Regions from separate parts of the Homo sapiens genome. Here region 2 is linked to region 1. Evidence: promoter capture Hi-C in 16 types of primary human blood cells and fetal thymus (Javierre and others, 2016). All regions are on one chromosome and are shown on one strand. The core of a region is centred on a gene start or on the middle of the fragment in contact, and the rest is flanking DNA. Distances in the headings are between cores, read along the strand shown. Region 1 holds the start of NOL6 (nucleolar protein 6). Region 2 has its middle 41 kb from the start of PTENP1-AS.

The links. The method cuts DNA at HindIII sites, captures the fragments that hold promoters and counts their contacts. A CHiCAGO score of 5 or more calls a contact.
Region 2: a contact is called between a fragment that was not itself captured here and the fragment with the promoter of NOL6 in region 1, in 1 of 17 cell types (erythroblasts). The highest score is 5.5, in erythroblasts.

What each region holds. Positions count from the first base shown.
Region 1 is chr9:33,471,270-33,475,993 of GRCh38, forward strand. NOL6 (nucleolar protein 6) reads right to left here and starts at 2,655. Exons shown (of 26, transcript NM_022917.5): 1 at 2,520-2,655; 2 at 937-1,143; 3 at 735-851. The coding sequence starts at 2,573. LOC107987061 (a long non-coding RNA gene) reads left to right here and starts at 2,871. Exons shown (of 3, transcript XR_001746648.3): 1 at 2,871-2,928. RefSeq lists an enhancer at 2,267-2,606. The HindIII fragment of the contact is 3,045 bases long and covers 1,232-4,276 here.
Region 2 is chr9:33,715,807-33,720,762 of GRCh38, forward strand. No RefSeq gene overlaps it. Among named protein-coding and RNA genes, the nearest start is that of PTENP1-AS, 41 kb to the left of the region's middle. RefSeq lists an enhancer at 4,288-4,377. The HindIII fragment of the contact is 1,106 bases long and covers 2,730-3,835 here.

The sequences.
Region 1 (4,724 bases), core at 1,405-3,904:
AAAAACAAAAACGTGAACTTTTAAAAGTTAGAGGGCATCACTGTTCTGCAAAATAAAATCCAGCAGTGGCTCCCCATCTCACCCAGAGCAACAGCCAAAGTCCCTACTTCGGGACACAATGCCCTGCATGATATGCTACTTTTCCCCATCACCTTTCTGAACTCATCTCCTTCTGTATTCCTCATTCATTCCAAGGAATGTAACTGGAACATTCCTGCCTTTGTGCCTTTGTACTGGCTGTTCCCCCTTCCTGGAATGCTTTTATTCCCTTAGATATCTATATAGCTGACTCACCTACTTCAAGTCTTTACACAAATGTCACTTCAATAAGGCCTACTTTGTGAACACCCCCTTTAAACTTGTAAACCACTCCCATCCTCTAATACTCCCAATCCCCTTACATTGCTCGTCCTACTTTTTCCTTTTTCCAGTGTTTACCACATTCTAACATTGCCATAGAGTTTACCTGTTATGCTTATCTATTAACTATAACCTCAGCATTACAGCATAGGCTATTATTTACTGATATATCCTAAGAACACAAATACTGCAAGGCATGGAAGTACTTGCTGAATGAATACACAAATGACCACGCTCCCAGCTAAGCTTCCTTGCTGTGAGAATGAGCTCCCTGCACCCCAACCCTTAAACAGAGTAACAGCAAGGCCCCTGTTTGATATACCCCCACTGGAGGTCTCTCTTGGGCTTCCCAGTTCCCCAGGCCACTTGCTTACCTCTGTCTCAGGGACTGAGGGCACCCTCACAACCCGCTGGTTGACCTCCCGTAGGAAGGCATCAATCCGATCCTTCTTCTTCTCTGACAGCCTTACTTCCTTTAGTAGCTCCTCTACCTGTAAGAGAGGGTAGAAGACAGTCCATCAGCCTCAGGGTCCCAGGTACACACCTCGAACAAAAGCTGCAGACACTCAACAGTACCTGTAAACGAAGCAAGCTGGAGTGGAACAAGATCTCAGTCTCCCGAAGGCGATTAAGCTCCTCATTGGTAGGCTCCTTGTACAGTTCTGCCCTGCTGAGCTTCACTGGCTGCAGGAGGCCCTTCGCTGGAGGTTCAGCCAATGTACGCTTCCTGGAGGATGCTTTCTTCCCCTCTTTGCCTGTGCCTTCCAGGGCTGGTTCCATCACCTGTGGCCAGTGAGGGAGAAGCCATTTTGAGGTAATAGGTATCTAGCATCTGCTGCCTAAAGTGCCACCATGATAGGTTGTGGGTAAAAGCTTCACCTGCTCTGTCCCTCTTTTGAGTAGGAGTCAGATTTTGTAAAACTCAGGAGAATCGTTACTTGGATGAACATCACTGAGCGCTGAGCCGAAAATTCCTTGAGTTAAGAGCTCTCCTGTCTACCTGACACCACAAGCATGGAGCTCTGTTTGGAATTGGTAGTGATAGAAGCTGACTGGGCCCAGGCTGGACACGGTGGCTGACGCCTGTAATCCCAGCAGTTTGGGAGGTGGAGCTGGGCGGATCAGCTGAAGTCAGGAGTTCGAAATCAGCCTGGCCAACATGGGGAAACTCCGTCTCTATTAAAAATACAAAAATTAGCCAGGTGTGGTGGCACATGCCTGTAATCTCAGCTACGCGGGAGACTGAGGCAGGAAAATCACTTGAACCCAGGAGGCAGAGGCTGAAGTGAGCCGAGATCGTGCCATTGCATTCTAGCCTGGGCAACAGAGCAAGACTGTCAAAAAAAAAAAAAAAAAAAAGAAGCTGACTGAGCCCTGCCCTAAGTAATGCCCAGGCCCCTTGTATTTTCAGGAAGTTTCCTCTTCTGCTGATATAGGCCTGGGACTTCTCAAATGTCTTTCCCATTCTCGCTCCAACCAAATCCTGCCAGGTTCCACCTCCTCTAGGAAGACCTGACTGCCTCAGTTTACACTAAATACTCACTGATGGAAGGAGCTAGAACCGACTGGACCCCAGAGGACACATTTAGCAAGTCATTAAATCCTCAAAATAATTCTTGAAGACACTTGAAGTCCCACTATTCACTCGAGGTTCCACAACTGGTACACCCGTACTATGAGCAGGCTTCAAAGGCAAGCGTGCAGGATCCCAAACCTTTTCCCCTACAGCCGTGGGCCCATCCGCTCCACGATGCCTCTCATCCCAGAGAGCCTTACTGGAGCGCTCCAGGAGAGGCACCGTATGCCCTCCGCTACAGCGGGGAGCACAGAACTGGACACAAATTCTGTGGAGGAAGATCCCGCTTATCGTCAAGGACCACCAAATAAAAGAAACGACCCAAGTGTGGGTCTCTTCAACTTTGAGGTGCAGAGCTCCAGAAGAGAGCAGAGGCTCTACCGGCTTCACTGCTTCTAACCAAATACTGCCAGGTTCCATCACCCCTAGCAAGCCCTGTCTCAGTGCCACTGGCTGGAAACATCCTCCAGAATGGGCCGCCGGCATGGCTTTCACCCGCAAGCTGTCAGATCACGCCATCTCGGGCCCTGCAGCCAAGGGAGCGCACATTGAGCCTCTGTTCCTCCCCGATGGCTCAACCCACCTCTGGCTCTCCAGTCGCTCCGCGAAGCTGCTCTCCAGCTGGCGCCGGCCCCATCACTCAGGGTCCAGCACTCTCCCGCACTTCAGATTCTAGCCGGGTCTATACCTCATAGCTTCCCACGTGGGCGGAAATGCCTAACTCCAGGCCCAAGTCCAGCCCACCCCAATTCCTCAGGACTCCACCCACTCCAGAGCTATTGGATTATCAGTCGATTACTCGCTTGCCATTGGCCGGGCAGTCTCAAGGCCCGCCCATTAGGGGAGGGGACAAACGGGTTTCTGTGCTTTACGGCCTCTTCGCGACGCTAGAACGGAAGCCTGCCCGTAGCTAGGCCTTTGCTTTCTTTTCCTCACTTCCTTCGCGTGGCTGCAATCGGGAAGGGCGGAGCTAGTTTGTTCCTTTTGGTCAGGTTTGTTTACAGCAGTTATTCCTCCCTTTTTCTTTATTTGCTACACCTTATCAGTTAACAAATCTTGTCAGTTCTACCTCCAAAACATACCTTGAATTTATTCATTTTTCTGTGTCTTCACTGCCAGGTTTAGCCCGTCACATCATCTTGTTCCCGAATTATTGTTATGACTTTTCTCCAGTTTTTACTTATTACTTAGCTTATTACAATTTCAAGTAATTTAGTTATTTTTATTTATTTATTTATTTATTTATTTATTTATTTATTTATTTATTTTTGGAGTAGTCTTGCTCTGTCGCCCAGGCTGGAGTGCAGTGGCACGATCTCAGCTCCCTGCATCCTCCCTCTCCCAGGCTCAAGCGATTCTCGTGCCTCAGCCTCCTGAGGAGCTGGGATTACAGGCAGGTACCATCACACCCGTCTAATTTTTGTATTTTCACTAGAGATGGGGTTTCCTCATGTTGCCTAGGCTGGTCTCAAACTCCTGACTGCCAGTGACCCGCCCACCTTGGCCTCCCGAAATGCTGGGATTACAGGCCTGAGCCACTGCTCCCGGCCTATTTTTAAACTATTAAAAATTTAAAACAAATGTTGCAAGAATAATATAATGAATGCGCATATACTCTTCACCTAGATTCACTTAGTGTTACTATTTTGCCAAGTTTATCTTTACCTATGTATTTACATATTATTTTGCAAAACCATTTGAAAACCAATCACACATCTCCCTAAATACTTAGGTATGTATCTACTAAGATCAAGGACTACCTCTTATGTAAGCACAGCCCGATTATGAAATTAAGGAAATTTAATCGTGATTCAATACTAGTATACAAATTCCATCTTTAAATTTTGTCAGTTATTCCAGTAATAACCGTTATATGTTTCATTTTATTTCCTAATGCAGGATCATCTAAATTCAACTATTACCATATAATATATATATATATATATATATATATATATATATATATATTTTTTTTTTTTTTTTTTTTTTTTTTTTTTGAGAGAGAGTGAGTGTCCCTCTGTTGCCCAGGCTAGAGTGCAGTGGGTCGATCTCAGCTTACTGCAACATCCACCTCCTGGTTCAATTGATTATTGTGGCTCAGCTTCCCAAGTAGCTGGGATTACAGGCATGCGCCAACACACCAGGCCAATTTTTGTATTTTTAGTAGAGACAGAGTTTCACCATGATGGCCAGCCTGATCTCAAACTCTGGCCTCAAGTGATCTGCCCTCCTCAGTCTCCCAAAATGCTGGGATTACAGGGGTGAGCCACCGTGCCCAGTCTAAAAATTTGTATTGAAGTACAATATACATAAGGAAAAATGTACATATCCCAAGTGTAAAGCTTGAATACTAACAAACCAAACATACTCATATAGTCAGCTCCCAGAAAATAAGCAGAACATTTCCTGCACCTTCAGAATCTCCCCTCATGCTGCCCTCTAGTAACTCTGCCCCCAACAATCACTATTCTGACTTCAAACAGTGCAGGTCAGTTTATACAATAGCTTTTTTATTATTTATTATTTATTTATTTATTTATTTTTTGAGACAGAGTCTCACTCTGTCGCCCAGGCCGGAGTGCAGTGGCACGATCTCGGCTCACTGCAAGCTCCACCTCCCGGGTTCAAGTGATTCTCCTGCCTCAGCCTGCCAAGTAGCTGGGACTACAGGCGCCCGCCACCACGCCCGGCTAATTTTTTGTATTTTTTAGTAGAGACGGGGTTTCACCGTGTTAGCCAGGATGGTCTTGATCTCCTGACCTCATGATCCACCCGCCTTGGCCTCTGA
Region 2 (4,956 bases), core at 2,033-4,532, 250 kb after region 1:
CAGACCAAGTTTTTGTTGCTAAACGACTTTTTATTAACTTCATGGAAAATGTCCATTGTGAAAGTTTTTTGGATTTCTGAATTATAGATAAGGAATATAGGCCTGTACAGATACATATACATACATATAATTGGATGAAAGTTGGAAAATACAGAAAACCACCAAGAAAAATATTCATAATCCTACCATTCAGAAGTAACCACAAACATTTTGGTATATGTACCATTTTGTTTGCATCTTTTACATATATCAAAGACCTTTTATATATTTATATATGTAAAATATGCAAACACATATTTTTTTTTGCTTATTCCCCCTCCAGAGAAACAGGATTAAATTCACATTTTCTCTTAAATATATAAAATGAACATTTATCTATGTCAGTAAATATTCTACTATAGCCTAATGTCTGTTTTGAGTTTTATTGTATTGCTATTCCTTAATTTATCAAACATTTAGGTTGATTACAATTTTTCATGTTATAAATAACAATGTAATGAGCATAGTTATCCATACAACTTTTGGTGTGTCCTGATTTTTTCCTAGGATAAATTACTAGATGTAGAATTACTGGGTCGAAGGGTTTTCTTTTATCAAAAAGTTTACAAAAGAAACTTTAAAAATATGTTTTCATCAAAAAGTTTACAAAAAAATTGGTAAGTGATTTTCATGCATGAAAATGAGTGCTTATTATTGATTTCACTCATTGTCATTGTTTTAGAGAATTGCCTTATATTTAGAATAAACATCTGTATTCAGAACACGGTCGCATCTTTTTTTTTTTTTTTTTTTTTGAGACAGAGTCTCACTCTGTCGCCCAGGCTAGAGTGCAGTGGTGCGATCTCAGTTCACTGCAACCTGTGCCTCCTGGGTTCAAGTGATTCTTCTGCCTCAGCCTCCCAAGTAGCTGGGACTACAGGTGCATGCCACCATGGCAGGCTAATTTTTGTATTTTTAGTGAGGGTGGAGATTGGGAGGAGGGTGAGAATTGAAAAGCTAACTGTCGGGTACTATGTTTATTACATGGGCAATGAAATAATCCATACACCAAACCCCCATGACAAATAATTTACTCATATAATAAACCTGAACAGGTACCCCCCTGAACCTAAAATAAAAGTTGGGGGTAAAAAGAAGCTGGAGAGAAGAGAGCCTCCCTTCCTGAGGATAATAGCCTTCGTGTATGCCAGACACTGTTATAAGCATTTTACACATTATGGCTCATTTAGTGCTGAACCTGTATATAGGATGTAGGTTGACAAAACTGAGGCACGGAAAGCATAAGTAACTTGCTAAGGGTAAGAAAGATTGTAAGAATAGAAGCAAACACTACTGAAGGGAAGACAACAGCACTCAGACACATTGAGATGAGAACCAAGTAACATTGATTTACAGAATATACAGGCAAATGGGATGCGCTGATAGAGCTCCTTTTATTAAAAATTCTGCAGGAATAAAAGAAAATTCATGGCAACTATGCAGAGAGCTTAACACAAAAAAGAAGAGGAAATATAGTATAAATGGGAAAGTGAAAAATCCATCCTGAAATCTAATATAAGCCTAAGAAACAGAGAAAAAAATCTAAGACAAGTATTTTGTATCTAGAAAAAAACAAAGAAAACATATTCATTGAAACAAAAATAAATAAATACTTAGATGAGACAATAAAATAAGATGGAAAAATGGTAGTTACAAAGCTAAGGAAAAATTGCAGATCAAAACAGCAATTACAGAGTTAAGTAAATTTGAAAGAGCAAGAAACAAAATTAACATAGTCAAATATTAAATTCATCACTTTCAAAAAAGCTTGAGATAATCATAGAAGGTGTGTAGGGAAAAGACAATAAAGTCGAAATGGTTAGGATGAAGATTAAGCTATGAGGGATAGATAATGATCTACCCATGGGTCCTTGTTTCCCCAAAAGAAAGACTACAGTGCATGAAATACAAAAAATATCTACCAATATAAAAGAAAAGAAAGAGCTGGCTAGGAAATTGAAAGGGCTCCCTGGATTCTGGAAAGAAGTGACAGTGCTGGCTCAACTCTGAGACATACTTGATGAATTTACTACACTTCAAAGTAAAAGAAAATAGTCTCATGTATTCAAGAACAAAAAGCAATCCACTTACAATGGTGGGGTAGGGCTGGGAGAGGACCCTGAGAATCAGGCAGCATTTGATGCAAGAAAATAGTAAAACAGTGTCCACAAAGTTCGGAGGAAAAGAAAGTGGAACACAACAATTTCCTACCATACAAGTTCTTGTTAAATCAGATGCAGTAGTCAAACATATAAACACTAGAGAACATAAAACCCGTGAGCCCTTCTTGTAAACGAAAATAAAACAAACTGACCCAAGAGATGAATCGAAGTAGATTTCAGAAATTGATTGGTGTTGGCATCAGAATTCTTCTCATAGAGGGAATTTTCCTTAGAAAAAAGAAGCTTTCATAAGCTTCTGGGGGTAGTACAGAATTCCATACCTTCAGACTTTTCCATATCTGTATATTATTCCTTCTGTTATTTAGTTAATACGTTTCTTTAAACTCACTTTTTAATTTAGATTCATATGTTTATGAAGGAATCTTGCAATCATAAGCCGAAAAGAAAAATTGGCATCACTTACGGTAAATAGAAGGTAGCCAAGCATAAAAATAAATTCGATGAAACAAAAACAACGTTATTAATATAACCAGATATCATTGCCAGCTTTAAGAGGGCCAAAGCTGAAGCTTGCTTTCTCTTTCATAAAAAGAGAGTTTGGTAGGTGTTAGATGTTATGTGCTTATTCTCACCAAACAGACTGTCTTTGACTAATTCATCTTACTACTAAATAGAGTGTATTAGTGCGATTCAATGAAATTTAATGCTGTGTTCTTGCATCACCTTAAATCTCACTTTGGGTGCTATGAGTGGAATTTTTGTGTGTCTTTTCCCTCCTGCAAATTCATCTGTTAAAACCATAACTGCTAATGTGATGGTGTTAGGATGTAGGATGTTTGGGAGGTGATTAGGGAGCAAGAGCGGAGCCCTCACGAGTGGGAGTCATGCCCTCATGAAGAGATTTTGGAGGCTAGCTGAGAGAGACAGAGCTGGACATACTGGCTCGATGGAGCTCTGGGTGTTGCTCCCACAACAGCAACAGCACAGAGCGCTGAACACACACCCCACAGTTCACCATCCATGGCCAGGAGACCATTCAAAACGTGATTGCTGGTTGTCAACTCCAAGAACTAACAGGAGTGAAAACTCACACACACACCCAAGAATGCAGACTCTGCCTGGCACACAGGGAAGTCTGCCCTCGTGCCTGGGGTTCCTTCCTCTGTGGGCTTCCTATCTTCAGAGCCTTGGCTCTCCCTTCCCCTGAGGGATTACTCACCACTTCCCTAACACTGCTGGGCTGCCCTGCTTTGCTGCCATGGAGTCCAGTCATCAGGCAGATTCATTCACATCTAGGCGCCTGAGTGGTACTGGCCACCACGTAATGGAGTGGACATCAAACCGAGAAGTGGGCAACCTGGAATTGGGTGCCAGTCCTAGAGTCCCTCATCAGCCAAAAGAAAATTATCTCGCGAGTGCCTACCTTCCAGAAGTGTCACGGGGAGACCATCAGGTGTGTACCAGAAGCACTTCCTACATTGCAAAGCAGCAAAGAAAGGCAGCCTCTATAGTGGTCTGTAAAGAGTGCCTTGCAGAGAGGACACAGCCTGGCTGATGAGTTTCCAGCAGTAGAGCGTTAGGTGTGATTGAATCTTGGAGAGGAAGAGACTTGGTTCTGTTGAACCTGCTCCATGTTACTCAAAGCACACACCACACACTCTGCCAACAGGTAAAGCTTCGGATGCTACCTGCTGTGTTCTGTCCTCTCCCAGCTGAGCCAGGCCCTGGGAGCCCCCTCCAGGAGCTCCGGGCAAGCAGCCCCTCATGGTCCATGGTGGAACTGCACCCTCAGCACTGGTGAGGGTGTCGCAGGAGCCTGCGAGGAAGGTGGGGTCTCAGTGCTTTTGCACAGGGCGAGTGGAGCTGGAAATGCAGCCCCCAGTGGTTTCAGTTATTCCAGGTATGACTTTTCTCTCTCATCTTGCACCTTCGGACTCTAATTTCCTGTGAGCAATGTGCTGGGAAAACTGGCAGCGGCTCTCTGGCAACCGTGGGGGAAAGAAGCAAAGTGGGGCAGAAGCGGAAGCCAGGGGCAGGGGCTGGGTCGGTCCAGCCAGCCCGCTAGGGCTCCCATGTAGCAGAGATTCCACTGAGAGGAAGCCGGGGCTGGCCCGGCCGGGAGACTCCCTCCATGCCCCGTGTGTGGAGTGTCGGGGCACCCTATATCCTCAAGGTGGCCTTGACCTCTGGAGACAGGTGTTGGCTCCTTGAGTCACCAACAGCAGGGACCAGACTGGGAGGTGTTTTTGGGCGGGAAGGGCTGGGCCAGGCCAGGCTCCAGCAGGCCCCCTTGTGGTCAGAGGGACTGCCTGCAGGATGATGGGCTTGGGGACCAAGGCAGCCACTCCCCACATGGGAGTTGGACCCAGGCTTGAAGGACACACCGTCACATCGATGTCACTCTCTTGGGAGGCCTCCTTGTGACACAAGATGTCCTGGCCCCGGTGTTTTTCTTCACCATATTCCTCCCAACTGTAATTGTGTAGTTCCTGGGGTGCTTATCTCTCAATGTCCATCTCTGTGAAAAAAGCCGTGACCCTCCGGGATAAGGTCTGTTCGTGAGACTCACTTTGTGGAAAGGACATATGAAAGTCTCAGGACTCTACCTAAGAGCTAGGATCCAGCTCAGGTCCCAGCTCCACTGCACCAATGCCCCTCGGTCCGAGGAGAGACTGAGATCTCTGTAAACAGCAGAGATCAGTAATACAGGCTTTGCCCTGCTGAAACTTCCCTCTGAAAGGAAGCATAATGCTTTCAGCCAAGTGCCTGCCCAGAGCTCTAAATAGATAACAGT